Regions from separate parts of the Homo sapiens genome. Here all the other regions are linked to region 7. Evidence: promoter capture Hi-C in 16 types of primary human blood cells and fetal thymus (Javierre and others, 2016). All regions are on one chromosome and are shown on one strand. The core of a region is centred on a gene start or on the middle of the fragment in contact, and the rest is flanking DNA. Distances in the headings are between cores, read along the strand shown. Region 1 holds the start of IFI6 (interferon alpha inducible protein 6). Region 2 holds the start of KDF1 (keratinocyte differentiation factor 1). Region 3 holds the start of ZDHHC18 (zDHHC palmitoyltransferase 18). Region 4 overlaps FGR (FGR proto-oncogene, Src family tyrosine kinase). Region 5 holds the start of TRNP1 (TMF1 regulated nuclear protein 1). Region 6 has its middle 7.8 kb from the start of LINC02574. Region 7 holds the start of TMEM222 (transmembrane protein 222).

Evidence for each region. Contacts are between HindIII fragments. The CHiCAGO score rates a contact against its expected background, and 5 or more counts as called.
Region 1: a contact is called between the fragment with the promoter of IFI6 here and the fragment with the promoter of TMEM222 in region 7, in 13 of 17 cell types (naive CD8 T cells, monocytes, total B cells and 10 more). The highest score is 9.9, in naive CD8 T cells.
Region 2: the fragment with the promoter of KDF1 here is called in contact with the fragment with the promoter of TMEM222 in region 7 in 7 of 17 cell types (M1 macrophages, M2 macrophages, neutrophils and 4 more); the score reaches 9.5 in M1 macrophages.
Region 3: a contact is called between the fragment with the promoter of ZDHHC18 here and the fragment with the promoter of TMEM222 in region 7, in 10 of 17 cell types (total B cells, neutrophils, activated CD4 T cells and 7 more). The highest score is 11.6, in total B cells.
Region 4: a contact is called between a fragment that was not itself captured here and the fragment with the promoter of TMEM222 in region 7, in 6 of 17 cell types (endothelial precursors, megakaryocytes, naive B cells and 3 more). The highest score is 10.6, in endothelial precursors.
Region 5: a contact is called between a fragment that was not itself captured here and the fragment with the promoter of TMEM222 in region 7, in 1 of 17 cell types (erythroblasts). The highest score is 5.1, in erythroblasts.
Region 6: a contact is called between a fragment that was not itself captured here and the fragment with the promoter of TMEM222 in region 7, in 5 of 17 cell types (endothelial precursors, naive CD8 T cells, erythroblasts and 2 more). The highest score is 6.0, in endothelial precursors.

Annotation. Positions count from the first base shown.
Region 1 is chr1:27,670,645-27,675,019 of GRCh38, reverse strand. IFI6 (interferon alpha inducible protein 6) reads left to right here and starts at 2,828. Exons shown (of 5, transcript NM_002038.4): 1 at 2,828-2,897. RefSeq lists an enhancer at 2,457-2,796. The HindIII fragment of the contact is 12,379 bases long and covers 1-4,290 here.
Region 2 is chr1:26,958,319-26,962,296 of GRCh38, reverse strand. It overlaps KDF1 (keratinocyte differentiation factor 1), which reads left to right and starts at 1,829. Exons shown (of 4, transcript NM_152365.3): 1 at 1,829-1,947. RefSeq lists a silencer at 545-839 and an enhancer at 1,709-2,391. The HindIII fragment of the contact is 1,819 bases long and covers 1,570-3,388 here.
Region 3 is chr1:26,825,198-26,829,118 of GRCh38, reverse strand. ZDHHC18 (zDHHC palmitoyltransferase 18) reads right to left here and starts at 2,431. Exons shown (of 8, transcript NM_032283.3): 1 at 1,980-2,431. The coding sequence starts at 2,314. RefSeq lists silencers at 2,164-2,373, 2,384-2,533, 2,497-2,649. The HindIII fragment of the contact is 7,154 bases long and covers 658-3,921 here.
Region 4 is chr1:27,617,160-27,621,159 of GRCh38, reverse strand. It overlaps FGR (FGR proto-oncogene, Src family tyrosine kinase), which reads left to right. Exons shown (of 13, transcript NM_005248.3): 6 at 3,864-3,967. Among named protein-coding and RNA genes, the nearest start is that of AHDC1, 15 kb to the right of the region's middle. RefSeq lists a silencer at 2,602-2,761. The HindIII fragment of the contact is 959 bases long and covers 1,183-2,141 here.
Region 5 is chr1:26,993,575-26,997,757 of GRCh38, reverse strand. It overlaps TRNP1 (TMF1 regulated nuclear protein 1), which reads right to left and starts at 4,066. Exons shown (of 2, transcript NM_001013642.3): 1 at 3,146-4,066. The coding sequence starts at 3,971. The coding sequence ends at 3,288. RefSeq lists enhancers at 1-80, 1-196, 3,569-4,069 and silencers at 3,734-3,793, 3,824-4,153. The HindIII fragment of the contact is 2,158 bases long and covers 1,098-3,255 here.
Region 6 is chr1:27,652,870-27,656,963 of GRCh38, reverse strand. No RefSeq gene overlaps it. Among named protein-coding and RNA genes, the nearest start is that of LINC02574, 7.8 kb to the left of the region's middle. RefSeq lists a silencer at 2,051-2,453. The HindIII fragment of the contact is 5,418 bases long and covers 1-4,094 here.
Region 7 is chr1:27,319,905-27,323,990 of GRCh38, reverse strand. It overlaps TMEM222 (transmembrane protein 222), which reads right to left and starts at 1,828. Exons shown (of 6, transcript NM_032125.3): 1 at 1,600-1,828. The coding sequence starts at 1,793. It also overlaps the pseudogene ACTG1P20. RefSeq lists enhancers at 773-1,319, 1,471-1,820, 1,320-1,867, 1,868-2,414. The HindIII fragment of the contact is 7,674 bases long and covers 1-4,086 here.

The DNA of each region.
Region 1 (4,375 bases), core at 1,579-4,078, 350 kb before region 7:
TTAGCCAGGCGTGGGGACGGGCGGCTGTAGTCCCCGCTACTCGGGAGGCTGAGGCAGGAGAATGGCGTGAACCCGGGAGGTGGAGCTTGCAGTGAGCCAAGATCGCGCCACTGCACTCCAGCCTGGGCGACAGACCGAGACTCTGTCTCAAAAGAAAAGAAAAGAAAAGAAAAGAAAAAGCACATTAGGTCATTTTGGTTTTTTTCTTTCCTCTTAACTGTGTAGCAGGTTCAGGCCACAAAACAAGCTATGCTGCCACTTCTGATTATATGATCCTACAATGTTGCTGGATGTATCTGTGTGAAGGTGGATAACAATTCTGTAGGGAGGGAGAAAAAAGATTCTGTAGAAAGTTTCTGAAAGCCCACATAGGAGAATTACGGTTAGGATTCTTAGGATTCTGCAGTAAGGCTATGCTTACTGTGGTCCCTTTGGGAAAAGAGGCCCTGATGTGTCACTGGGCCCCAGTAGTGACTACACATCTCACCACTGGGTGCCAGGTAGCTATATATCTTAAGTTGGGTATTATCAGAAAGGTAGAGCAGCAGTTCCATATGTGATGGAAGCTGGGCGCATTGGCTCATGCCTGTAATCCCAGCACTTTAAGACCTCGAGGCAGAAGGATCACTTGGAGCCAGGAGTTGGAGACTAGCATGGGCAATGTAGTGAGACCTCCATCTCTAAAAGAAATATAAAAATTAGCTGGGTGTGGTGGCACATGCCTATAGTCCCAGATACTTGGGAGGGTGAGTTGGGAGGATTTCTTGAGCCTAGGAAGTCAAGGCTGCGGTAAGCTATGATTGTACCACTGCACTCCAGCCCCGGCAACAGAGTGAGACCCTGTCTCTAACAAACCAACCAACCAACCGACAAAACAACAAAGAGGCCAGGCACAGCAGCTCACACCTGTAATCTCAGCACTTTGGGAGGTAGAGGTGGGTGGATCACCTGAGGTCAGGAGTTCAAGACCAGCCTGGCCAACATGGCAAAACCCCATCTCTACTAAAAATACAAAAAACATTAGCCGGGCATGGTGGCGCGCACCTGTAATCCCAGCTACTTGGGAGGCTGAGGCAGGAGAATCGCTTGAACCCAGGAGGCAGAGGTTGCAGTAAACCAAGATCACACCACTGCACTCCAGCCTGGGGAACAGTGCAAGACTGTCTCAAAAACAAAAACAAAAACAACAAAAAACAAAGAACAAAACAAAACAAAAAATATATGATGGAAATGGTATATTCAAGGCTGAGCAAAGGGGTCTAAAAGGCTTGAGTAAATTAAATAAACAGGGAGCTCAGAGTCCTGTGGCGCCCAACTCTGTTTCTCTGGGTTTTCTCTTTGACCCATATATATGGCCTCATGGAGTGTTCCCAGCAACCAACAGATAATGGAGGAAAGGAGTCAAACTCAATTCACAGATAAGTCAGTATAATATTTTGGTATCAGCTGGAAACGGACCACTCTATTACAGCCCCATTTGGGGGTGGCACTGAATAATAGTGAATCCTCCCAGGGGGCAGAACTAGGAGCAGTATACCGTGTTGTTCCCTCTGTATGCAGAGAGAGAGAGAGAGAGATGGACTGAAGTACAGACATACACCAATTCCTAATAAGAGGCAAATGGCTTGGCTGGTTGGTCAAAGGCATGGATGGAACAAGATTGGAAGATTGGGAATAAGCAGGTGTGGGTTAGGGGCATAAGAATGAACTCTGAATGGGCATAAAGCACCTGGATCTCTATGTCTCATGTTAATGCTGACCAGAGATCATCTGCTGCAGAGGAGGCTCTACAGCCCAATGGCCAGGATGTCCCATCCTGTGGATGTCAGCCAGCCTCTAAACTTAGCCTCACTATTGCCTTGCAATAGACCTATGAGTGTCCAAGGTGGTAAGGATGGGGGTTAGAAATGAGTCCAACAACTTGGGCTCCCTCTCACCAAAACTGATCTGGCAATTGCCAAAATATAGCCAATCTGCCAGCAGCAGGTAGCAATATGGCAAAATTTCTCAATGAGAATAGCCAGCCATCTGGTGGCAGGTCAATTATTTCAGACCCCTTCCACTTGGGAGAAGGCAATGATTCATCCTTACTGGAATTTCTATGTTCTCCAAATAGAGGTTGCATTTCTGACCCATAGCACTTCAAGCATCACCATCCAAAGGCTTTAAAGAATGCTCAGTTCATTACCTAGGGCCAGGGGACCCATCTTGAAACTCAAGATCTATCATGATGGCCACATGAACACAGGCTTCACTGGTCTTACCATATGCCCATGACCCAGAAGCAGCCAGCCTGAGAGAACAATGGAACAAAGTGACTTAATTTCCAAAGTTCTGGGGGTTTATAAACAGCATATGGTATGTCACATGACTACTGTGGGATTGGAAAAAGATCATGTAAATAGAGCACTTTGCACAGACCCTGGCATGCAGCAAGTGCTCAATAAATGATAGGTGTTGTTTACTAATTGGACTGAATGGTGAAAGGCCTGTGTGCCCCAGGGGGAGCTGGTGATCAGGCTTCACTAAGCCCAGTATGGCCGTGGCTCTCATCATAGTGTGACATGCTTTGAATACCCTTAGCGGCTCCAAAAGTCCTCAGCTTGAAGTGCATTTTTCTGCCAGCAGGCAGCACACAAATGTTCCCGCTGGGCGGAGCTGGGAGAGAGGGGAAAATGAAACTCTGCAGAGTGCAGGAGCTGGGAGAGAGGGGAAAATGAAACTGCAGAGTGCAGAAATAGAAACTCCGACAGGGATTGGCTGCCTAGGGTGAGACGTGGGAGGATCCACAAGTGATGATAAAAAGCCAGCCTTCAGCCGGAGAACCGTTTACTCGCTGCTGTGCCCATCTATCAGCAGGCTCCGGGCTGAAGATTGCTTCTCTTCTCTCCTCCAAGGTAAACTCAGGAGCTATGAAGTGTGGGCATCAAGCTGCCACCCTCTGCCAGGCTGCCTGTCTGCCTGTAAATCTCATGTTCTGAGAGCCAGGAGGCCCCTTCTCCTGGGAGGCAGCACTCCTGGGTCCCTTTTAGTGCTCTGGGCTGGGACTTGTCTAAGAGGATGGGTTGGAGATTTTTAGGGAGATGGGATGCAAAACCCCAAGTGGCATGAGACCCAGCTTACAGGTGCAATATCAGCGATCTGTGGCCTTAACACTGTCACCTCTTGGAGCCTTAATTACTTCCTCTGTAAAAGGAAAGTTAAGTTGCCTTTGCTGCTCAAAGGACTGGATGATTTTAGAATCCCCTTTATTATAGGATCCAATGTGACAGTGAGTTCATCTTTAAGGATAGATGAAGCCATCTGGAGTGGTTGTTAAAAATGTGGGCTTGGTGGCCGGGCGTGGTGGTTCACGCCTGTAATCCCAGCACTTTGGGAGGCCGAGACCCACGGATCACGAGGTCAGGAGATCGAGACCATCCTGGCTAACACAGTGAAACCCTGTCTCTACTAAAAATACAAAAAAAATTAGCCGGGCTTGGTGGTGGGCGCCTGTAGTCTCAGCTACTCGGGAGGCTGAGGCAGGCAGGAGAATGGCATGAACCTGGGAGGTGGAGCTTGCAGTGAGATGAGATTGCGCCACTGCACTCCAGCCTGGGCGACAGAGAAAGACTCCATCTCAAAAAAAAAAAAAAAAAAATGTGGGCTTGGGTATTAGCCAATTGTGGGTTTAAACCCTGACTTTGCCATGACCTGGCTAGGCAGCCTTGGGAATATTACTTAACCTCTCTGAGCTTCAGTTTCCTTATCTATAACATGTGGTTGATAACAATGGTACCTACTTCGTGGTGTTGTTATAGGTACAAGTGGACTGCGTGCCATAAAGTGCTAAGTACTCAATACATGAGAGGAGTTTCTTGTTTTTCTTTTTAACTTAAGAAAATAGCATTGATCTGACAAAGATCATATTAGAGGTGAGTCTGAGGGCATATGCATTTTCCAGTTTTGTGGTATAAAGGAAAGAGCATAGGTTCATGAATTCTGACTGTCTTGAATGTGTACCCATGTTGCACAATTTGCTGTGTGACCTTTATCCCTTGTGATATTGTAAAATATATTTTTTCATCCCCCAGTTCCTGGCATACAACTCCTAAAATCCTTGGAATCTTCAAAGTGATAAATATCTTTTGAGTGATAACTGTCTAATAAGTTGACTGATGGCTGGCATTTCCTCTGGGGAGGGGAGAGGGGCTGAAGGTTAAGCTGATTACCAATGGGCAGTGATTTAATCAGTCATGCCTATGTAATGAAGCCTCCATAAAAACACAAAAGGACAGGGTTTGACAAGCTTCCAGATAGCCGAATACAAGGAGGTCTCCAGTGGGTGGTGCTTCTGGAGAGGAATGGAAACTCCATGCCCTTTCTCCCATACCTT
Region 2 (3,978 bases), core at 580-3,079, 360 kb after region 7:
CTTCTGAGATTTGCCTTTTTTCAATCCAATATTATATTACCATGATCCAACCATGTTGCTATTTTTCATTCATTTTCTACTGCTCTATAATTAATTCCTTTGCATGAATATCCCACATTTCTCTATCTCCTGTCAGTAGCATTTCCGTGTTTTCGGTTTGGGGCTACCACAAACAATGTTTCTAGTAACATTCTTGTATACATTCTCTCCTGGTGCATTGCACAAGAGCTTACTGTGGCTGTACCATAGGAATGGACTTGCTAGGTTTTAGAGTACACAGATGTTCAACTGCACAAGATGTGACTGTGAAGTGAGGATGTGACTCATTCTCTGAGCTCCAAATAAGAATACAATGTGCACTTTCCTCAGGAGGGAATGTGGACAAGATGTGGTGGGAGGCGCTGGGATGGAGGGTCTCTGGTGGAAATTGAACACCTATGCCTAATGCATCCCAGTGATATCTTCCTGTTGCATCCATGATCTCTTTTAATCCTCCCAGTTAAAGAGAGGTACTACTATCTCCAGAGATTAGGTTTAGAGAAGGAAAGTGCCTTGCCAAAAGTCAGTTTGTGCCAACTGCCTGAGCAAACAATGTCCCCTCTCTAAGCTTCAGTTTCCTCTTACTGTAAAATGGATATGATAATACCTGACCCACTTCACAGATTAACGGCTTCGGCATGCATGGCTCCTGGAGATGCTCCCTAAAAGTCACTTGTTTGTTTGTTTGTTTTGTTTATTTGAGACAGAGTCTCGCTCTGTCGCCCAGGCTGGAGTGCAATGGCGCGATCTCGGCTCACTGCAACCTCTGCCTGCTGGGTTCAAGCCATTCTCCTGCCTCAGCCTCCCGAGTAGCTGGGATTACAGGCACTTGCTACCATGCTAGGCTAATTTTTTGTATTTTTAGTAGAGACTGGGTTTCACTATGTTGGCCAGGCTGGTCTCAAACTCCCACCTCGCGATCCTCCCGCCTCGGCCTCCCAAAGTGCTGGGATTACAGGCATGAGCCACTGCGCCCGGCCAAGTCACTTGTTTATTAATGCTATTGTTAAGTTATTGAGTTGTTATTAATATTAAGGGGAACAGTAACCCAGAATAGTCTGAGCCTTGCCTTATTGACATTCAATGGTGTTGCCTCTTGCAGAGACCTTTTTTGGATGTAGTGACCATGGCCCATTTTGGCCACCACTTCTGATCCTGGATGTATCTTTCAGAGCTGCATATCCGGTCCCCCTCCTCTACCCTACTCGGGGCCTCAGAGCTGAGGTTCCTGTCTTTACCTGCAGATTTCTCTGAACAAAAGAAAAGGTAAACTGATCAGCGGCCCAGGCTCCCAGTTCTGCCTCAGGGCAAAGGGAGAAATTGGGGCCCAGGGCCTCATTCAGTGGAAAATATTTGTTGAACACCTAGTATGTGCCAGGACCTGTGCTGAGCACCAGGAACACAGGGGAACAAGACCAAACCCTGCAAGGTAGGAGGCTAAAGGAGGAGACAGAAGACAACAAAACGACAGTGTGCTGAGTACAGGGACTGTTCTAACCAACAGAAAAACAGACAGGATCAGGGAAAGCTTCCCAGAAGAGAGCTTCCCTTTGAGTTGGAGCTTTACGGCCGGGCAGAAGTTCCACAGGTGCTCAGAGACTGACAGGACCACCAGCCTGTTGAACAGAAGAGGAGACTGAGCCCCAGCGCCTCTCGACCCCTCCCCGCCACACCTCACCTACCCGGACTAGGCTGAACGGGCCGAGCACTCGAGCGGGGACGCGCAGCTCTGCAGAGCCCCGGGGCGGGGCCTCGGTCCAGGTGCGCGGTAGCGCTTCGCGGAGGCAGGAAGTGTGTCCCTAGCGGCGGCCCGTGCAGCGCTCCCGCGAGACGCTCACCTGCGCCCCAGGTGAGCGGCGAGGGGGCGGGGGAGGGGCTGAGCCGGAGGCGGCTCACCTGGCGGGACAGGTAAGCCCGGCGCGGGCCCAGGGGGGCGCAAGCCAGGGCGGCGCCGGTGTCGGGAGCCCCCCGAAGCTGAGCCCGGACAGGAGAGGGTCCCGGGCCCGGTTCCTCGGGGGCCACCCTCCTACTTCCGGGGTGCGCGGGCCGGGCTGGGGAGCGGCCTGAGCGGGCGCCCGGGCTGGGCGCGCAGAATGGGGTGAGGGGCCGCGTTCGCCCTTAGGGCTGCACTGGCTGGGTGCGGGGGCCGCACTCACCGGGGGGCAGCGTCGGGATGGGACAAACGCTGGTGCTCACCCCGAGGAACAGCGTCGGGACGGGAGGGAGGCTGGGTCCGCCCGCGGGGTAGGGCCCTTGCAGCTGGAGAGGGTAGTGCTCGCCCCGAGGGCAGAGTTGGTGTAGGGGCTGTGGTAGCCCGGGGGACAGTGCCAGGATCTGGTTCTTCCTTGTCCCCAGGACTAGCTGCCCGCGGATATGGGACTCTCGGGCTGCACCTTTGGGGCAGGAGGCCGAGGGTGCACTGAGCCGACGGCTGTTTCTCGAGCAGGACTGGGGTGGTCCTCCCCGGCCGGGTGTCCGAGGCTTGGCACTGGGCTGGGGGCAGAGGCTGGTGCGGCCGGGCCTGTCCTGGGGACCCTCGGAGGAGGGGACGGTACATAGACCCTTGAGTGTGTGTGTGTGTTCGCGGGACTAAGGGGGAAGAGGAAAGCATCAACGAGAAATCCAGGGAGGGCGGGCCGGGACCCTCTGACCCCCGGGAACATCCTTGCGGTGCCTTAGATCGCCTAGTGACCTAGCCCCTCCCATGGGCAAGGCCACTGCGGGAAGCCCCCTGCACTCAATATTTCATTTAAATCTCACGGGATTGGCGGGGCATGAAGATACTAGTCTCTCCTTATTTAAAGATGAGGAAAGTGAGGTTAAGAATCTTGCCTCAAGCCACAATAGGGACAGGGAGTCTCCCCTCACTAAACCAAGTGACCAGGTTCCTAGGATTGGGCGGGGTGGTGGCGGGGCGGTGGCAGCAGGGTCGGGGAGATACAGCCTGGAAGAAACTGCCTGAGTTTGACTTCAGGAGGGTTCAATGGCTGGAGGGAAGTGGGGAACTGAGGCAGGCATTGTCCTTATCCCAGGTCTTCTCTTCTCATCCCACCACCGCTGGAGATGTGTGGCACACACAAAGTACGCAGGCTTCAGAGCCTGGCGGGCCACAGTGCAAATCTTACTCCAGCCCTCTCTTGCTAGGTGTCTCTGGGCCAGTCACTTCACCTTTCTGAGCTTCAGATTCCTGATCTGTGAAATGGAGATATACTACTTATTTTCAGAGCAATTGTGAGAGTCAAATAAGGTGAAAGTCCTCTGGCCCATTCACTGCTGTTTTCTCAGCATTTAGCACAACGCTGGGCACCTCGTTGTATTAATTTAATCAATAATAGAGAGTCCTAAAGCTTTGGAGGTTGGGGAGAAGACAATAGCCAGTCCATCCTCAGGAGCCCCACGTACTTCCGAGCTCAGCATGGTTAACTGTAGATCTGTCCACTCTCCTGAAGGCTTGAGCCTGGAAGACAGGGCTCCCAACATGGGCTCTCTCTGGGCACACGCTGGTCCATGGAGCTGGCAGCTTTGACTGCCTCTTTTCTCCCAAGTAATAGATGGGATGGGGTAGTGGATAAGAGTCTGGGGCCAGGCCAATTGTGTACAGATAGATGTATGGCTTTGGACAACTTATTTAACCTGTCTGTGCTTTAGTATAATAATACAGGTAATAATATTACAAAGAGGGTTGTGAAAATTAATTGGTTATTATGTCTGAAGTACTTAGAACAGTGTAAGCCATCAATAATCAACTCTCACTGGATTGTAAACTCCTGAGGTTGAGGGATTTTGTCTGTTTTATCACTTTATCCATAGAATTTAGAACAGCTAGGCCGGGCGCGGTGGCTCACGCCTGTAATCCCAGTACTTTGAGAGGCCGAGGTGGGTGGATCACGAGGTCAGGAGATCAGACCATCCTGACTAACATGGTGAAACCCCATCTCT
Region 3 (3,921 bases), core at 1,182-3,681, 500 kb after region 7:
CTACCAGCCCCCAATGAGGACAAGCGGGGACAAACTGCAACATGGTTCACGAGCTCTCCCCAAACCCAGAAGTCCTTGCTTTCTCCCTCGCTGGGGACAAAACAGTCACCAGTGAAGATACCCGGTCAACCCAGAGAAGGTCCTGCTTCTAGTTCAGAAGTTAGGCCAGATATCACACTGCAGGGTCATGTGGGTCAACCACGGCAAGTACTGCTTCCTCCTGCCTCGGCTGCAGCCCTGGGTGTGGGGACTGAGAGGGCAGCCCAGGGGATACTAGAAAAGGCATTTCCAAAACACTCATGTGGCCAGCCCAGGGAAGTGGATCTGAAACTCAGCCCAGAGCTGAGCTCTGGGCCCCCCAGAGCTTCTGCTTGTAAATCATCCCTGAACTTTTTATCCACCCTACTCAAAAAAAAGGGCAGAGTGTGTGGTTAAAGGGTAAAGGGAGAAGCTAATTTATAGGAAGTCTTCACCTTGCTTCAAGGGGAAACCCAAAGTTGCAGATACATGATCTGGCAGCTAGAAAGGGTACCTGGGGGCGGGTGTCTCTATGATAGCCTTACCATGGCCACATGCCCTTGGGAAGTGTTTTTTGATAAAGACAACACAAGTACTAATAGCAGCCAACATAGTGTGCTTGTTACTGGGCTAAAAGCTTGCATGTGTGACCTCATGCCACCCTCAGGACAACCTTACGGGGTGGGTACTATTATAAATCCCATTTTACTGATGAGGAAACTGGGGCACTGAGGGGGTGAAGTGACTGCCCTGAGGTCACGCAATTAGTGGGTGGTGGAGCTGGGATTTGAACCAGGTCTGTTAGAGTTCTTAACTACACTGTATAATTAAGAGGAACAACCACAAAGGATGGGGAGTTGGGAGGGGACAGCAGGGCTTATGAAGCAAGGGTGGGTGGGTGGGCGTGTGAGTGTGTGTGCAAGGAATCACAGTGCAGGTGGCTCAGAGGTGGGTGGAAAACTTCTAATACAAATATATGACCCTCCATCCATAAAATGGAGATTATGTGTGGGCCAATCCTGGGTCACCGGGGGATATGAAGAGGACAAAAACCTAGGGGGGCAAATATGACCTGTCACACGAAAGCACTCCGAAGTCTTTCCTGAAAAACAACAAGGCACCGCAGCTGTTGCTGATGTGGAACAGGCCAGAGGGACGTTCCAGAATGTTGAGCAGGGAAAGAAAGCCAGGTGGTCAGCAGGGGGGCCAGGGGCCTGGGAGCCGGCTGGGTGGAGGCGGGCGGGATCTGAGGGAAGGACAGGAAGCTCTGGAGAACCTAAGGAAGGTTCTGGAGAAGGAAAGGGGGCCCGAGAGGCCCAAAGATTTTGAGAAAAGATGCCTTGGGGCCTAGGGTGTGCGTGGCTGAGGGGAAGCAAAAGCGGGGTTGGTGTCTGAGACTAGAGAAAAGGAGGGGACCCTGGAGGGACCCGGAGAGGGCAGCGAGGATGACTAGGATGTTTATGGTGGGTGTGCACAGCCAAAGGACACACAAGATCTAGAAGTGGTCAGGAAGGGATACAAGGGTCAGAAAGAACTTGGGGGGTTGGCAAGAGATGGTCCAGGGATGGGTGAGCAGGAGGGGCCTGTTCAAGAAGCCCTGGGGCAGGTTCTGAGAGGGCAGCGAGGATGGGGGCCGTGGAGGGGCATGGAGGCTGGTGTTCCTGGCAGTGGCAGGCAGACAGGTGCCAGGGTGGGGTCAGGGAGAATGGAGGGGCTGGGAGGGTGGAGGGCACCAGCGCGGATGGGGTACCCAAATGGACCAAGGAGGATGGGGCATCTGGCGGGGATGGGGGTGCGCAGGGGCCAGGGGGGCAGACAAGAGGCCCGAGGAGGATCCCAAAGGGGCGGGGAGGATGAGGACCAGGGAGGCGAAGGGGAAGGCACGGAGTGCCCAGCAGGGATTGGGAAGGTGGGGTGCGCGGCAGGGGGCTGGGAGGGGGCGCCGAGGCAGCGGAACTCACTCAAAGACGAAGAAGAGGCCGGTGGTGGTGAGGATGAGCAGCAGCGTGAGCGCGAAGACGCCGCCGTGGCCGGCCAGCATGAGGCGGCCGCCGCAGTAGAAGCGATTGCGACCCGGGAACACCTCCCACTTGCGCCGTGGGCGGCGGCCGAGGCTCCCGCTCCCGCTGCCGCTGCCGCTGCCGCTGCTGCTCCAGCGCGGCGGGGCGGGGGCGGCGGGCGGCGCGGGCCCGGGGCCCGGAGTCGGGGACGCGGCGGGGCCGGGACGGCGCGCCCCCGGGGAGGCGGGCAGCGGGGCGGCCCCGGGGCTGATCTGCTGGTACTCGCAGTCCTTCATGCAGCCAGCCGCGGGCCTCGGCTCCGCGCCCCGCGGGCCGGCCGGGCCACTCCGGGACCGGGCCGAGCAGCGGAGGTGGCAGCGGCGGCGCGCGCGGCGCTCGCTCGCTCACTCACTGGGGCGGCCCCGCCATCGCTCCGCCCCCGGCCCGCCGCCACCGCCCGCCGCGGCCTCCCGCCGCAGCGCCCCCTCCGCCTGGGCCCGGGATGGCGCTTGGCCGGAGGCCCAGCTCTGACCCGCGGCGGGGCCCCGCAGGTCCCCGGCCCTCCCAGTCTCCCTTTTCCCTTCTGCACAAAGAGGGGGCCAGCAGACGCGCACTCGAGGGCTCTTTCTGTTCTGCAAGCAAGCCGTTTGTTGGGCGTCCACTGTGTACCAGGCACGGTGCCAAACGCCGAGATTCAGGTGGTGGACTTCGTGATCTACTTCTGGCAGTCTGTAATTCCCCAGGCTTCGCCCATCTCTGAGGGTCGAACTGACAGGCATTTGCAGAGGCAGGCAGGCGCGGGGAGGTGGGGCACACGATTTGCTTTGAAAGCCAGGACCTCTTCTACCTTGAAGTCCAGAGTGCCCACTGGAGGTGTGTGGCACACCCTCTGGCCTCGTTCACCAAGTTCTGTGTCCTGGGCCCAGGCCCAGATTTTCCTAGGTAGCACATAATGTAGAGGGGTCATGCCTGAGGGCCCCAGTGTTTTTTCAGGAATTCTGGGAGTATTCATTTTCTACTGCTGTGTAACAAGTTACCACAAATTTAAGGCTTAAAACAAACATTATCGGCCGGGCGCGGTGTCTCACGCCTGTAATCCCAGCACTTTGGGAGGCCGAGGTGGGTGGATCACAAGGTCGAGAGAGACCATCCTGGCCAATATGGTGAAACCCCGTCTCTACTAAAAATAAAAAATTAGCTGGGCATGGTGGCACGGCATCTATAGTCCCAGCTACTCGGGAGGCTGAGGCAGGAGAATTGCTTGAACCCAGGAGGTGGAGGTTGCAGTGAGCCGAGATTGTGCCATTGCACCCGGCCTGGTGACAGAGCAAGACTCCGTCTCAAAAAAAACAAAAAACAAACGTTATCTAACAGGTTCCAGGTCAGGAGCCAGAGAACAGCTTAGCTGGGTCCTCTGCTTAGTCTCACAAGGCTGCAATCAGGCTGCATTCTCATCTGGAGACTCAGCCAGGGAAGAATCCACTTGCAAGCCCATTTGGGTTATTGGCAGAATTAACTTCCTTGCGACTGTTTAACTGAAGAGGGCCTGGGATTTTTGCTGGGTGACTGTATAACTGAGGAGGGCCTGGGATTTTTGCTGGGTGTCTGCTGGAGGCCTCTCTCAGGATCCAAAAGCCACCTGCAGTTCCTAGAGATTATCACATTTCCTTGCCATGCAGGTTTCTCCTACATAGCCACTTAGTTTCTTGAAACTGACAATGAGGGTCTCTAGCTCCAGACTATGATGATAGAGTTTTATATAACTTACTATATATGTGACAGAGTGGCATCCCATCATCATTGCCATCTCCTATGGTTAAAAGCAAAGCACAGGAGCCATCTGCACTCAAGAAAAGGGAATCACACAAGGCGTAAATACCAGGAGGCAGGAATCATTGGGGGT
Region 4 (4,000 bases), core at 413-2,912, 300 kb before region 7:
AACAGTGTATGAGCTTTAAAAAATTGTAAAGTGCTGAAAAAGTGCAAGGGAGCATTACTAGGAATTAATTCTATTAAGGAGGCAAGAATTTTTCTTTTTCTTTTTCTTTTTGTTTTTCTTTTCTTTTCTTTCTTTCTTTCTTTTTTTTTTTTTTTTTTTTTTTTTTTTGAGACAGGGTCCTACTCTGTTGCCTAGGCTAGAGTGTAGTGTAGTGGCACAATCTCGGCTCACCGCAGCTTTGACCTCCCTGGCTCAGATGATTCTTTCACCATGCCTGGCTAATATTTTTTTTTTTAAGTAGAGATGGTGTTTCGCCATATTGCCCAGGCTGGTCTTGAACTCCTGAGCTCAAGCCATCCGCCCATCTTGGCCTCCCAAAGTTCAGGGATTACAGCCATGAGCCACCGAGACCTGGCCCAAGAGGCAGGAATTTATCATTCATTGAATACCTTTATATACTTGAGCAAGTATACTACAGCAAGTATTTATCTCCTTGGTTCACTTAATTCTCACAATAACACCGTTATATTATTAGTTTTTTAAGAGACAGGGGCGTGCTCTGATGCCCAGGCTGGGGTACAGTGACATGATTTTAGCTTACTACAGCCTCAAACTCCTGAGCTCAAGTGATCCTCCCACCTCAGCCTCCTGAGTAGCTGATACTACCGGTGTGTGCCACCATGCCTGGCTAATTTTTGTATATTTTTTTATAGAAGCAGAATCTTGCTATGTTGCTCAGGCTGGTCTCAAACTTCTGAGCTCAAGCAGTCCTCTCACCTTGGCTTCCCAAAGTGCTGGGATTTCAGGCATGAGTCACCATGCCTGGCCTTGATATTATTATTTTAGACAGAGTCTTGCTCTGTTGCCCAGGTTGGAGGGCAGTGGCGTAATCTTGGCTCACTGCAACCTCCACCTCCTGAGTTCAAGCAATTCTCCTGCCTCAGCCTTCCAAGTACCTGGGACTACAGGTGCACGCCACCACACCTGGCTAATTTTTATAATTTTAGTAGAGACGGGGTTTCACGATGTTGGCCAGGCTGGTCTCAAACTCCTGACCTCAAGTGATCTTCCTGCCTCAGACTCCCAAAGTGCTGAGATTACAGGCATGAGCCACCGTGTCCGGCCCCTTGATATTATTATTGTTCCCATTTTACAGATGAGGAAACTGAGGCTCAAAAAGCTTTTAAAAATCTATCCTCACAAATGTCATACATATATGAGAAAAGAAGGGATTGAAGAGACTTTGCAGAGTGAGAATCCAGGACTCTGTGACTGATTTGGGTTATGGGGAGTGGGAGGAATCAAGGGTGGCTCAAAGTCTCCTTAAGGAGCTGGGTGGATGATGGCACCATTTGCTAAGGCGGGAAACACAGGAGCAGGTATAAGTTCATGAGTTCTAGGGGGTACTTGTTGGATTGTGGTTTGTGGAGAGGAACATCCAGGTGGACGAAGCTGCCAGCAATTCGATTAGGTTGTGCTTTGTATGGCAGGCAACCAGCCCATGCTAATCCATGCCCCTGAATCAGCCCAGAGGAAGGGACACCTTTTCTTAATTGCCACTAAAACTCCTCAGTTTGTTTGCTGTGGCCCTTGCAGAGGGCACAACGGGCTAGGGCAGAAATTTGGGACTCATGAGAGTAAAGATGATCATTAAGGCTATATAGGAGGGGGCTGGGGGCGGTGACACATGCATGTAATCCCAGCACTTTGGGAGGCCGAGGCGGGCGGATCACATGAGGTCAGGAGTTCAAGACCAGCCTGGCCAATGTGGTGAAACCTTATCTCTACTAAAAATACAAAAATTAGCCGGGTGTAGTGGCAGGCACCTGTAGTTCCAGCTACTCAGAAGGCTGAGGCAAGAGAATCACTTGAACCTGGGAGGTGGAGGTTGCAGTGAGCTGAGATCGAGCCACTGCACTCCAGCCTGGGTGACAGAGCAAGACTCCGTCTCAAAAAAAATTAATTAATTAAAAATTTTTAAAAAAGCTATATAGACGGTTAAGGAAGAGAGTGGAGAGTGCAAAAGGTTGGCCCTAGGACCCCACTTTGGGGAAAGCTGCCCTCGAAGGAGAAGGAGCCATTGGAGAAGAGAGGAAATCCAGACCAGGCCAAGTCAGAACAACCGAGAGAGCGGAGAAGCTTCAGGAAACAAGAGAGGGCGTGTCAGAGGCTACCGCTGGATTTGGCAGTGGGGGTGACCTTGGTGAGAGATTTCTCTGTGTGAGGGTGGGAGGCGGAGGCCAGACAGCAGAGCCTGGGAGGGAGTGGGAGGTGAGGAAGTGGAGACCCAAGTGTGAAGCACTTTTTCAAGTGAAGGGAAGGCGAGAAGATACAGCAGAATGTTGACGGCAAGATGGAACTTAGAATAGTTTCCTTTGGGGAAGGGAGAAATGTGGGCATGTTTGGAGGTTGTTGGAATAGAGAGGCTGCATGCAGGTGGAGGCTGCTGGCAGGAAGTGGGTATCACTGAGCAGGAGCGGGTAGGCGAGGTTCAGAGGTCAAGTGCGGTGAGGCCCAAGTCTGGGGAGGTGGTAGGAGGCGTGAAGAAGAGGACGGACAATTATGCAGAGGACAGGAGGTTTGTGGGGAGCTTCATGCTTGTGTCCACATCTTGGAGCCAGTGTCACCAAGCACTGAGAGGTGCTCAGTGCAGTGTTGTGGTTACGGGTAGTGTGGTTAGGAGCACAGGCCCTAAAGCAGACAGCCTGGGTTCCTGTTCTAGCAACTGCTGCCCTGACTGTCTAATGGGGTTTAACAATAGTAGCTATCTCACAACATTGTTAGGAGAATTAAGTGAATACATACGTGTATTAAGGCAGACCCTAACACGAAATATGTGTGTTATTATTATAGTGATTATTAAGGAGGTAGCTAATGTCATGCGTGTGGGAGCGGGGAGGGCTTTGAAAAAACTTGACAATGTGTCCTGTCTATACAGTCCCTCAACACTTCCTCCGTCCCCCTCCTGCCTGCCCTCCTGGACACACCACTTGCCAATGCCTTCCCCTGTTTCCTGAACTGTGCCTAGTACCCAGGGGCGGACTGACCTTCCCAGGGTCCACTGAGACTTCCACCACCCTTGGTTTGAAAACACGAGGCTCCTTTAATTCAACCCAAGATGGCCACAGGCCAGTTTCATGATCATCTGAGTCTTCTATGGCACCTGTGGTCACTTCAGCTCCCCCATTGTACCTGCACAGTTGGTTTAGGGCTACGGTTCAATCCCAGAAAGAATCCCCAAGGGAGAGGAGTGATTGAGGCCTGAGGTTGAAGTTTAGACTTAGGACAACATCCAAGTCTAAGAGAGTGCAGGAAGAGCAGTAGCCGGGGCGGGAGCAGCCAGAGAGAAGAGAAGCAGGAGACTGTGCTGCTCTGGAGGCCAAAGGAGGAAAGAGTTTGGAGGTGGAGGTGGGAGAAGGATCTGAGTGATCTGATTACTGGAGTGGTGAAAAAAGAACTAGGGAGAGCGGCAGAGGATTTTAGGTGGAGCTCATTAGCCAGCCTGTGGACAGGTCACTTTCCCTCTCTGAGCCTCAACTTCCTCATCTGTAAAATGAGTGCACAGAAGGGCTACAGTGAGATGAACTGAGGCTCCATGGCACCCTGATGACTGTGATTGTAGCAATTTTAATTCAAGAGAAACCTAACGAGAAGAGATGCTAACCTTTGCAGGGCACCTACTGTGTGCCAGGCATTTTACACTCCCCTTCTCTGTAACCCTCCCAGCCAGGATGTGAAGCAGGTGTACCAGCCCCATTTTACACATGGGGAAAATGGAGTCTTGGCTTGTGAGGTGACTGTGCAGGAGGCTGAGGTGAGGTTTGAGCAGAGCGTACCTGACTCTTGCCTGCCTTTCCCAACAGGTGGTACTTTGGAAAGATTGGGAGAAAGGATGCAGAGAGGCAGCTGCTTTCACCAGGCAACCCCCAGGGGGCCTTTCTCATTCGGGAAAGCGAGACCACCAAAGGTAGGGGTGGTGCCACGCCCCAAGGCGACTGGG
Region 5 (4,183 bases), core at 927-3,426, 330 kb after region 7:
TGAACTGGTCTCCCAGCCCCAAGCACCAGCCTGAAGAAAGGCTCCTGTTCCCCCCTCATTTCCCTTTGCTGAGATATAAATTCATTGGTGGCCGTCAGTGTCCTCAATGCACAGGTCCCCCAAGATCCCTGTACTCAGTCCTGTCCCCAGAGCTGGGGGCCACCAAGAAAGTGTTCTGAAAGTCATGTGGGGAAAAGGGGTGGGTCAGCCTTCTGTCCGAGGCTAGAGCTGGCCTCCAACAAACTGCTCAGCCCCCAAGGGATCCCCTGGGATGGTGACAGCCAGAAAAGCCTGCCTGGAAAAGAGCCAGGAGACATAAGCCCTTAAAAGTAGAGACCCTCCTCTGATTTGGCTCTGCTTTCTGAGCCCCTATCAATATTTGCTAATTAAGAAGAAAATGGAGGCAGACGGGTGAGCTTTTTTTTTTTTTTTTTTTTTTCTTGAGACACAGTCTTGCTCTGTTGCCCAGGCTGGAGTGCGGTGCAACCTCCACCTCCCGAGTTCAAGCAATTCTTTCTCAGCCTCCCGAGTAGCTGGGATTACAGGCACCTGCCACCACGCCCAGCTAATTTTTGTTATTTTTAGTAGAGAAGGGGTTTCACTATGTTGGCCAGCCTGGTCTTGAACTCCTGACATCAAGTGATTGGCCCTCGTGGGCCTCCCAAAGTGCTGGGATTACAGGCATGAGCCACCGCACCCAGCCTGAATAAAGCCAGACGGGTGAGCTTCTAGAGGGGGCCCTGGAGGGTCAGGCAGGTGTGGGAGGTGCCTTTTGTTAGTTGGCTATGTGGTAATGGACATAGCACTAACTAGGAGCTGGGGTTCAAGTCTACATGTGTGTGCCCTGGCCAGGAAGCTTGATGAGGAGCAGTGGGACATCTGGAAGTGGAGGGAGGGGGCAGAGCTGCCTGTGACACCAGGACCAATCTCCATTTACTACCCTCTACTTCACACACACACACACACTAGCCAGTGTCGTCTCTAATTCTCTACTCACCCACCCCACCCCCAAATCGGGACAAGCTGATTACAAATAAATCCTGGAGAAAGCCAAAACTGTGATGGCACCGAGCACTTTACACCATTAGCTAAAAGCTTCTCCGGACCAAGTGCCCCCTCCCATGCAACCCAGAAAACAAATGGTCCTGGCTGCAGCCCAGCACCAAGGCCTGAGCTCAGCTCTTTCCAAGATGTCCTGTCCTCTCTAAGCCTCTAGACCCCAAATGACCCAAGTGGCTTTGGAAGGTGTTCCCTGTTTGGAAAGACCAGAGGATGGCATTGCCCCCTTCATTACTTCCCTGGGGTTCCCTAACTTTGTCAGAGGCTCTGAGACTCCCTCCTGAACCTCCCTTCCCCAGCTAAGAAAGGGTTCAGGAAAGCCTTGCTGTTAGCCGAGAAACCAGCCAAAAAGTTTGGTATCCAGGGAGAAGGGCTGATGAGGGAGGATCCCATAAGGGCCCCAAGCCTCAGCCTATCAGAGCAGTGCACCTGACCCTCCCAGATTCCTGTGGAAGGAAGCATCCTCCCCACTTCACCCCATTCCCAAGCCCTGACTCAAGGAGGGACTGAGGAAAGAGGCCCAGAGAGGGGGCAGAGTTGTTCTAAGTCACAGAGCAGACAGGATCCAGAGGACAACTCTCCCTAGCCCCTGCCCAGGGTACTGTGGGAGGTGCACACACAGGCCAGGGACCTTGATTCTTCCCTCACTGGCATGTGACCTTGAGAAATCCCCTCTCCACCCTGCAAAAGTAGGACTTTAAATTAGCTCATGGCTCTATCAGCAAAAGCAGTGCCTGTTTCCAGGTGTGAGTTAAAATAATACATTATCAGCCAGGTGCAGTGGCTCACACCTGTAATCCCAACACTTTGGGAGGCCGAAGCGGACAGATCACCGGAGGTCGGGAGTTCAAGAACAGCCTGACCAACATGGAGAAACCCGGTCTCTACCAAAAATACAAAATGAGATGGGCATAGTGGCACATGCCTGTAATCCCAGCTACTTGGGAGGCTGAGGCAGGAGAATCGCTTGAATCCGGGAGGTGGAGGTTGCAGTGAGCCAAGATCGCACCATTGCACTTCAGCCTGGGCAACAAGAGCGAAACACTGTCTCAAAACAAACAACAACAACAAAAAAATTATCTTTCCATGATTTAGTGAGGAAGAAGAAGGACCTCTGCCCTGGGTTAACGTCACCACAGCCCCTCTGGGAGGTTAAGAGATCCACTTCGCAGACTGATAAGTGAGAGTGAAATTAACTCAGCTGGTGAGCAGCAATGTGGTAGCCAGGTCATTCACAGTGGGGACAGAGGAATGGGAGACTGAAGGGCATCTGGACAGGAAGAGAAGCAGATCTCACCTCAGATCTGGCTCTTTAAGGCCCCCCTTTCTGGAAGCTGATACCACACCTGCCCCCTTGGGGCCTGTTAAAGGGTATCACCTGGTTCCAACCTGGCCGAGCCATCTTAGTAACAGGTTGGGAGTTAAGCCTCTAGGTTCTGCTATGTAAGGATCCCTGGGTGAGCAGGTGCCAGACATCCTGTCCTGGTTATGTGAGTCAGGCTGTAATTTTTGCGAACCTGCATGACGGCATAAGAAAAGCTGTCTCCTAGAAGAAGAAGGGCCTAAGTATGAAGAGAACAAATCCTAAACCTCTCTGGGATTCCGTCTCCCCAAAGGTGAAACAGGCCTAGAGGGGGAATTCAGTGGTACAGCCCTGTGCCAGCCTCCACCCCATCCTGGGGCCTCATTATTCTGTCCTCCCGAAGGCACGGAGCTGGGCGGCGCCAGGAAGCAGCATCCTCAAGGGCAAGACTGCTCACAGCTCCGAGGGGCCCGGGAAAGGCCACGCAAGTGGGGGTGAGGATGGGGGGTGCTGCATCCGTGCGGCAGGTTCCAAGTGGTAAAAGTTTGCCGCCAACCCGTTCCTGGGATCTGAGCCCCCTCAAGAGTCCAACTCTTATAATGGAGACTTGATGCTACCACCTCTCACTCTCCAGATGGTCGGGAGAGGCGGCAACAGAAAGTGGCAGCTTTACTAGGGACCCAGCAGACGCCAGAAGCTCCAGGGAAGGGAGTTCCCGGGCCCTGGACCAGCCCCCCACACGCCATGACCGACCCTCGAACGCACCAGCCGCTAAGACCGCACCTCAGCCTCCTCTACTGGGCCCCTGGCCCCCAACTGCCTCTTCCTGCGGATCCGTAGTCCTTCCAGCCGGCGTCCGCGATCAGTCGGTCGGTCGGCACCTCGGCGAAGCTTGTCGGGGTGGCCAGGGGTCCGGGCGTGGAGGTCAGCGCTGCGGGGAGGCGGGGCCGCGGGGCGGGCTGCGGCGGAAGGGCGAGTCGGGCTCGGGGCCGTGGCCGCGCCGCAGTCGCCCGGCACCCCAGGGCACGCAGCCGCCCAGGCCCAGCGCCGAGGCCAGCAGCGCGGGGGGTCGGCCGCGGCGGCCGCGGCGCGGGCCCTTCTTGAGGCGCGACCCGTGAGCCGCCAGGTAGAGCTCGGCCTGCGCCACGCCGCCGCTCAGGCGGCTCAGGCTCTCCGCGCGGTGCGCCAGGCGCAGCTCGGCCGCCAAGAAAACGCGGTGCAGCTGCAGCACGCGGCTCTCCAGCTCCGACACCAGGCGCCGGCGGCCCTCCACCTCCAGCAGCCGCCGCCGTGCTTCGGCCAGCTCCAGCGCGCGGCCCCCCGCCCCCGCAGCCGCGCCAGAGCCCCCTCCGGGGCCGGCGAGCCCCGCGATCCCGCTAGCGCCCTGGCGCCAGCGCTGCAGCTCCTGGTCCTCGGCCGCGCCTGCTGAAGCCCCAGCTGCGTCCGGCAGCGGCGGGGACTGACCCGGGGTCGGGGTAGGAGTCAAGGTCGGAGTTGGGGGCGGGGGCTGAGAGGACGGCATGGGATCCCAGGGCGGCGGCGGCGACCTCTGCTCTGCCGTCCCCTCCTGGGCCCCCGGGCCGCAGGCGCTGATGCGGCAGCCCGGCATCCCCCGCCCCCCACCGGCGGTCTGCGGCTGTAGGTGCGCAGGGAGGATGACCACAGCACACCCGAACAGCTAGACACGGCCACAGCCCCCACCCCAGAGGCGCGCCCGCCGTCCGCGCATCTTATAGAACACGGGGCGGAGCGACGGGCGGCACAGCCAATCAGAGACAGGCACGCCCTGAATCCGCCCCGCCCCCCCCCCCCCCCCCCGCG
Region 6 (4,094 bases), core at 854-3,353, 330 kb before region 7:
CAGCCCACTCCGTTTGCAATTAGAAGACCTCTAATTCCTGCCCACCCCCAACCATTGCCGAAGAGATTCCCTGGAGCTGAGGCCCAGAGAGAGTGATTACCTTGCCTGAGGTAGTTGGTGCAGAGCCAAGACCTACTCAACTGTCCTGAGGGCATGTGCAAGCTCACCTAATCCTGAAAGAGCCCCTAGGTGTCAGCACTGGCCAGATCCCCCACAGCCTGTACCCATTTGTAGGCCTGGGACTTGAGCCGCCATCGCAGCCCATTTCCCCTTTGCTCAGGAGCAGCCAACCAGCATCTGCTGAAGACAGGGATAGCAGGTCCCCAGTCTGGGAGCGGGGAAGCTAAGAAGGAAGCACTTTCAGGTAGCACTGGACTTCTGTTGCCCCTTTCAACCCCCATGCCAGCCCTATAAAGCAGGACTTGTCGTTCCCATTTTACAGATGCGCAAACTGAGGTGCTAGTTACCTAAGATAACACAGCAAGATAGTGGCAAAGCCAGGCCTAACTTCAAAGCCTGACCTCTTTCCTCTGCCCCTCAGCTTGGTGCCTCTTGTCTATCTGCCCTACTTCCAGGCCAATTCTTTCCTAAGCCTCATGAGGTCCTGAAGTGTCCTGTGGCTTTTGTTCCCCAAGCTGGGTCCCGCCCACAGTGAGGACTCACCAGCTGTGCTTTGGCAGCAGCTAAGAGCTGGCTGAATAACAGGAGTCATCCCTTCCTTCTGTATTTAGTCACTCCCTAAAACTGCAGGGGACCCCGACCAAATTAGGTAGTGGCCAAGGAGGTGTTTTGGAGAGGCCAAGCCCCTGAAACTAGGCCAGGCCACCTATTTGCTGTATCACTTAGGTCTGTTTCTTTCATGGAGCCTCAACTTACCATCTATAAAGGGGGTGAATTATCCTTTCTCAGGGCCTCTGTGTGCAAGGATTCAGGAAAGCTGCTCTCCTCTCTGCCAGGCCACCTCACCTTTGCACCTTCACCTTGAGGAACAGATCCCCACCCCACCCCCCCCGGCCAGGGTCCTTTTGTTGGCAGAACTCCAGCATAAACTGCACATAACCTGATTGTTAATGGGGGCCACAGATCCGGGGTTGGGGGCCCAGCTCCCCAGCTTCAGCCCTTCCTGGCCTTGGTTCCTGCTGGGGAACAGGCTCTGTCATCATGTCTGCTTCCTCTTCTTTCTGTGGCCTTTGCAGAGCCATTTCCCAGGGGGCTCTGCCTCTCCTGCCTCCTGTCTCCTCCTCTGTCTTCCCACCCTTCTTCCTCACACAGTGTTTATCCGCGCCTACTCTGGGCCTGGCACTTGGCTCATAGAGCTGAATAAGCTCAGGGCCTGTCCTTGCAAAGCTCACAGTTTGATGGGGGAAAATGGACAAGGAAACCAAGTTACAATTTATTCACCCATCCCAAATCCTATTGCCCTCCCTGCCGCTACCCTCACCCCTGCAGTCTGCACTCCACGCAGTAGCCTGAGTGATCCTGTTAAAACGGAGGTCAGAACATGTCACTCTTCTGCTCAACCCCCTCGCCCCCCCCATGGCTCCTGGTGTCAGAGGAAAAGCCAATGTCCTTGCTGTGACCTACAAGGCCCTGCGTGATCTACCTCACTGCCTCCCACTCTCTGCTCTGATCACTCCCTTCCAGCTGCACTGGCCGCCTTGCTGTTTTTCAGCATGCCAGGCGTGCTCCTGCCTCAGGCCTCTGCATTTGCCCTTGGCCCTGCCAGGCATGTCTTCCCCCAGGTAGCCACGTGGTCTCCCATCCTTCACTCAGGTATCTCCCCCTCATCCAGGGGACTTCCCTGGCTGCCTATCTAAATATTACCCCTTAGTTGCCTTCTGCTCTTTTACCTGCTTTATTTTTTTTCTTAGCCACTACCAAATAACATGTAATTATTGATTTTCTTTTTCCTGCAAAGGCATAAATCCCATGAGGTCTCCTGAGGTTCCCCACCCCCAAAAACAAACAAAAAAAGGACAGAAGAGAGAGAAAGAAAAAGAATGCCAGAAAAATTCTGGAAAAAAAAAAAGGCAACACTCACTGACTACTGTTAGATAACAATATTTAAAGCCTCAAAAATTAAAACAACTTGGGGCTTGATGGGGTGGCTCACGCCTGTAATCCCAGCACTTTCGGAGGCCAAGGCGAGTGGATCACTTGCGGTCAGGAGTTCAAGACCAGACTGGCCAACATGGTGAAACCCCATCTCTACTAAAAATACAAAAATTAAGAGCCGGGCATGGTGGCTCACGCCTGTAATCCCAGCACTTTGGGAGGCCGAGGCAGGCGGATCACCTGAGGTCAGGAGTTCGAGACCAGCCTGGCCAATGTGGTGAAACCCTGTCTCTACTAAAAATACAAAAATTACCTGGGTGTGGTGGTGCATGCCTATAGTCCCAGCTACTTGGTAGACGGAGGCAGAGAACTGCTTGAACCCGGGAGTTGGAGGTTGCAGTGACCCAAGATCATGCCACTGCACTCCAGCCTGGGCAACAGAGTGAGACTCCATCTTAAAAAAAAAAAAAATACAAAAATTAGCCAAATTAGCCTGGCCTGGTGGCAGGCGCCTATAGTCCCAGCTACTCAGGAGGTTGAGGCAGGAGAATCACTTGAACCCAGGAGGCAGAGGTTGCAGTGAGCCGAGATCATGCCACTGCACTCCAGCGTCCTAGACGATGAAAAGAGATTCCATCTCAAAAAAATAAAATAAGAATAAATAAATAATTAAGTCTGGGCATGCTGGCTCATGCCTGTAATCCCTGCACTTTGGGAGGCCGAGGCGAGTGGATCACTTGAGGTCAGGAGTTCGAGACAAGCCTGGCCAACATGGTGAAACCCCTTCTCTACTAAAAATATAAAAATTAGCCAGACGTGATGGTGGGTGCCTATAATCCTAGCCACTTGGGAGGCTGAGGCAGGAGGATTGCTTGAACCCAGGAGGCAGAGGTTGCAGTGAGCCGAGATCAAACCACTGCACTCCAGCCTGGGCGACAGAGCGAGACTCGGTCTCAAAACAAAACAAAACAAAAAATAATAATTAAAACCACTTGGTTTGGTTCAGGAAGAGACAAACAGACCAATGGACTAGAATAGAAAGTCCAGAAATAGACCTAATTGCACGCGAGAATTTAGTATTTGATAAAGGTGTCCTCTCAAAGTGGAAAATGGACTCTTTAATAAATGGTGTTGGGACACCTAGGTAGCCAACTAGGAAAAAAAAAATTAGATCCGTGCCTCACACTGAGCACCAGGATGAGCTCCCAAGGGATAAAATATTTAAATGTTTGAAAAATCAAAATAAAACCGTAAAGGCACTAGAGGAAAACATGGGAGAATGTATAATCTCATAGTGGAGAAAGTTTAACCATGACTCAAAAATCAAAAAGCTGTAAAAAGAAAAGATTGATAAAGTCAACTATATAAAAATCAAAAACTTCTGCATGGAAAAACACTATAAATCAACGCATAAGACAAATGACAATCTGGGGGAAATATTTACAACTCTAATCACAGACAAGGGAACATCTCGCTTATTTAGAAAGAATTCCAGGAAATTGATTAATCTTATAGAAATAGAGGCCTAGGCCGGGCGCGGTGGCTCACGCCTGTAATCCCAGCAATTTGGGAGGCCAAGGTGGGCAGATCACCTGAGGTCGGGAGTTCAAGACCAGCCTGACCAACATGGAGAAACCCCGTCTCTACTAAAAATACAAAAAAATTAGCTGGGCATGGTGGCGCCTGCCTGTAATCCGAGTTACTCAGGAGGCTGAGGCAGGAGAATCGCTTGAACCTGGGAGGCGGAGGTTGCAGTGAGCCGAGATCACGCCATTGCACTCCAGCCTGGGCAACAAGAGCGAAACTCCATCTCAAAAAAAAAGAAAAAAGAAAAAAAGAAAGAAATAGAGGCCTAGCATATGAACTGACGGTTCCCAGAAAAGTAAATATAAGTGATTCTTAAACACATAAAAAGAAGCTCAAACTCAAAAGAAATGCAAACCAGAAAAACTAGACTAGAATATTGCTACAGTTTGAACATTACGCCGCGAAAAGCAGGTGCTGGGAACTTAACCCCATACAACAGTGTTGGGAGGTTG
Region 7 (4,086 bases), core at 579-3,078:
GGTGCTCTTTTATTAGCTTACTTGTTTACTGTCTATCTCCTTCCACTATGACTTAAACTCTCAAAAGTCTAAAGACCATATCTCCTTTATTCATCACTGTATATTCGCATCACCTAGAACTATCTGGGAACACAGGGGTCACTTAGCACATGTGTTAGAAGAACACTGAATGAATTAATGTGCACATTTTCCTAAGATTTTATTTCACTATTTATTTTGAGACGGAGTTTCACTGTGTTGCCCATGCTGAAGTGCAGTGGTGCAATCTCGGCTCACTGCAAACTCCACTTCCCGGGTTGAGGCGATTCTCCTGCCTCAGCTTCCAGAGTAGCTGGGATTACAGGCACGTGCCACTATGCCCAGCTAATTTTTGTATTTTTAGTAGAGACGGGTTTCGCCACGATGGCCAGGTTGGTCTCGAACTACCTACCGATCCACCCTCCACTGCCTCCCAGAGTGCTGGGATTACAGGCATGAGCCACCGCGCCTGTCCCAATATTTTATTTTTAAAGAACAGATTTGGATGCTCTTATATGCATAAGTACTTGAAAACACAAAATAATTCAAGTATTTTAACATAATTCAAAAACTACGATCTTTTTAGAATCAGCAACACCTAAGGCCCCAAATGATCCCTTCTCCACATCACCACTGGCTGTTATTGATAGCGGAACAAGCTATCCCATCAGGTGAGAGTGGATAAGATGTAGTGCAAAGAGCAAGTTAGATCAGAAGACTGAGCTCTTCATGCCTTTGCTTATTGGGGTGCGAACCTGATCAAGACACTTAATGCTACAAGCAGCTCAGCTTCACCATCTGAGAAGATAACCTACCTTAGAAAATGGATGTTTAATTCTGATAAAATGGGTGTTTAAGAGCTTGGCAAACTATCCAGCACGGTGAGGAGGGGTTACGTTTATCAGCTGTCAAGGTTGAAGCAGGAGGGCAAACCACCTCTCCCCATATGAGAGCTCCTCCCAAAAGGCGCCAAGTAGTACCAGAGCACCTGCTTCTCCCCTGACAAAGGCTGATGTTACAGAAAGAACTTTGGTCTGGGAGGCAGACAACCTGGGATCTAAACCCAGTTTGCAACTGAGATGGCACGTGAGACAAAGGGTTGGACTCTCAGATCTCTGGGGGCCCTTCCAATGTTGACATCCCAGGATCTCGTGTGGTCCCAACCAAACTCCCACTCTTGCTCCCAGACCCAGCAGTATGTCTGGAATATGGTAAGCGACCAGTAAGCATTTGCTCAATGAGAGAATAAACCAGTGAATTAATAAAAATGTCTCCTCAGATCCGATAAGGGGCTCCCTCTTCTACACACTCACAGCTCGAGTCTCCCAGCCACTTGCCCTTTCCTGCTGGCCTACAACTCTCTCCCTGGCTACACCAGGTGTATTGAGAGCAGGGAGCGTGTCCCAGCCGTGTGCACAAACTGGCACTACATGGATGGCGGGGTTCTGGTGACTGGGCGAGGCGTGCGGGCCAGACCCGAGGAAAAGGCTTGCTGCGCGTTGGGGCCGGAGGCTAGCCCGGCCCGACTCCGGCTCTCCCTGGGCCCTCCTCGTCCCCAGGCGGATGCCGGAAGAGACTCACGTGAGCACCGGGATGGGCGTCCACACCACGCAGTAGGGGAAGCGACTCCGTTCCACATCCATGGCGACGCCGCCGGAGCCTTGATATTGCTTCATGTCCGTCTCGGCCGCCGTCGGCGCCTCCACTTCCGCCATCCTGGGCGGGGGTGGCGGCGGCGGCAACAAGAGCAGAGAACTCCCTTCCGCTTCCGCCATGCGGCGCGCGCCCCGCTCCGACTGGCCCCGGCTCTGGTGCCGCTCGTCCCCATGGCGTCACTTCCCGGAGATGGGGTCCGCCCCGCTTGGCCTTCCCCCGGGAATCCGAGCCGCGTTCCTCTGGGCCCGGCCAGCCCCGCCCCACTCCCTATGCGCCTGCCAGCCCCGAGTCTTTGCCGCTTATGCCCCGCGGCTGCAGAAGGGATGCTCTCAGGCAGTTCGCAGTCTAGCGCCGGAGACTTATAGAGAACTCTAATTCAGTACGCTGAGGGCTCCTAGGAGGTGTGGTACAGTCGCTATTTATTGAGCACTTCTTAGGTGCCAAGCACTTGACATGAATTGTTTCTAATCCCCATAAACTAATTAGACATCCAAATTAGGTATTCCCTCCTGTTACAGGTGAGAAACTGAGGTTCAAAAGGTGAGAGACCACGATGCAAACCCAAGTCTTTTTTTTTTTTTTTTTTTCTGAGGCGGAATTTTTTCTCTTGTTGCCCAGGCTGGAGGGCAATGGCACAATCTCGGCTCACTGCAACCTCCACCTCCCAGGTTCAGGCGATCCTGCCTCGGCCTCCCGAGTAGCTGGGATAACAGGCGCGTGCCACCACGCCCGGCTAATTTTTGTATTTTTAGTAGAGGTGGCGTTTCACCATGTTAGCCAGGATGGTCTCAAACTCCTGACCCTGTGATCCGCCCGCCTTGGCCTCCCAAAGTGCTGGGATTACAGGCGTGAGCCACCGCGCCTGGCCCAAACCCAAGTCTTATACCTCCCTTGCCCTTTTCATTCTGTGGCCCTCTCACGAGGTAGTGGTAGCATAAAGGAAGACACACACAGTTGTGTGTGCGCACGTGTGTGTGTGTGTGTGTTTTATTGTATATACAGGGAAGACTTGCTGGAAGATAGGATATTATTGAGTTGAGTCTTGATGTTTGCCATGTGGCACAGGAGTGGAAGTATGAGTGCAGCGGTACAAAGAAAGGAAGGCCGTGCAGAGCAGTGTGTGCAAGAGTGTGAATACTTACTGGAGTAAATCATAAGCCTTAGATGTGATCCAATCCCTTCATTGTACAAATGGGAAAACGGGCTCAGGGAAGTTAATTGTTTGAGATCACACACAACCATAATTAGAGAGAAGCCAGGCTCAAATGTTGGAGACTTTTGGCTTTTTAAAGGATGTCAAGACAAAGAAAATGAAGTCTACTGGGGTCTACTGGGGTGGGGAGGGGAAGTTGGGGACAGCCCAAAGTCAGAAGGAAGGCTGCCACTAAAAATCAGCCTTAAAGAAAAAAAAAAAAGAATAAAAAGAGTAATCAGGTAAAGGAAGGTATGGACAAATGCACTCAGGAAGTTAGGAGCTTCCCATTTGGGGAAGGTCCTTCTTCCACTGAATTACCCTCCCTCAATGCTGATCTATGGAGAGCTTGCTGTCCTGTTTGTAGCACCTAATATTTTCATGTTTTTTTGTGGGGGATGTCTGTCTCTGCTATAGAACTCTAAGGTCCTTGACTTCAGTAGCTGGCACAGTTCCTGGTGCAAAGCATATGCCCACTAGATGTTTACTGATTTATTAGGTGATTGAATAAATGGATGTTTTATAAAGACCTCAGAGATTCGCAGGCATGATAATGATTACAGTGGGTTAGAAAATGATTCTAACCCACTCCAAATTCTTTGAGCACGTTTGTACCTCTCCTTGACCCCTGTGCAGTGTGTGATCCTTGAAGGGCAACAACCAGCATCCAGCACAGGGTTTGGAATAGATTAGGTGTGTAGTTTACAGTTGTTGAGAATAAATTACATGACTTCTTGATTCAATCACTGTAGTTATCTAATCTCTTCTGGACCACAGGCTGTGAGGAAGGTCTGTGCCTTAGACATCTCCCTACCATGACTGTCAGCCCATAATTCTAGCACAGGGTTGCTGGGTACCCTTTAAACATTTATTGTAGGTATTGATGAATAAACAACCAAAGTAAGTCTCTCAGGGCCTGCCACAAGTTTGGTAGTACTAATACACGTACCACATTTAATCTGCCAAACTTCAATGGCTTCCCGTTGCACTTCGTATGAAACACAAATATCTTACTATGGCTCACAAAGCCCTGCACCATCTGGACCCATGCCCCTTCCTTATTTACTATACTACAGCCATCCTGGCCTTTTCTTTCAGTTCCTCTCATGCACTCCTTCATATTCCAGGGACTTGGCACACACTGTTCCCCTCTGCCTGAAATACTACTCCTATCTACTTAAAGCGGCTAACTTTCATTCTTCCAGTCTCAGATCAAATAT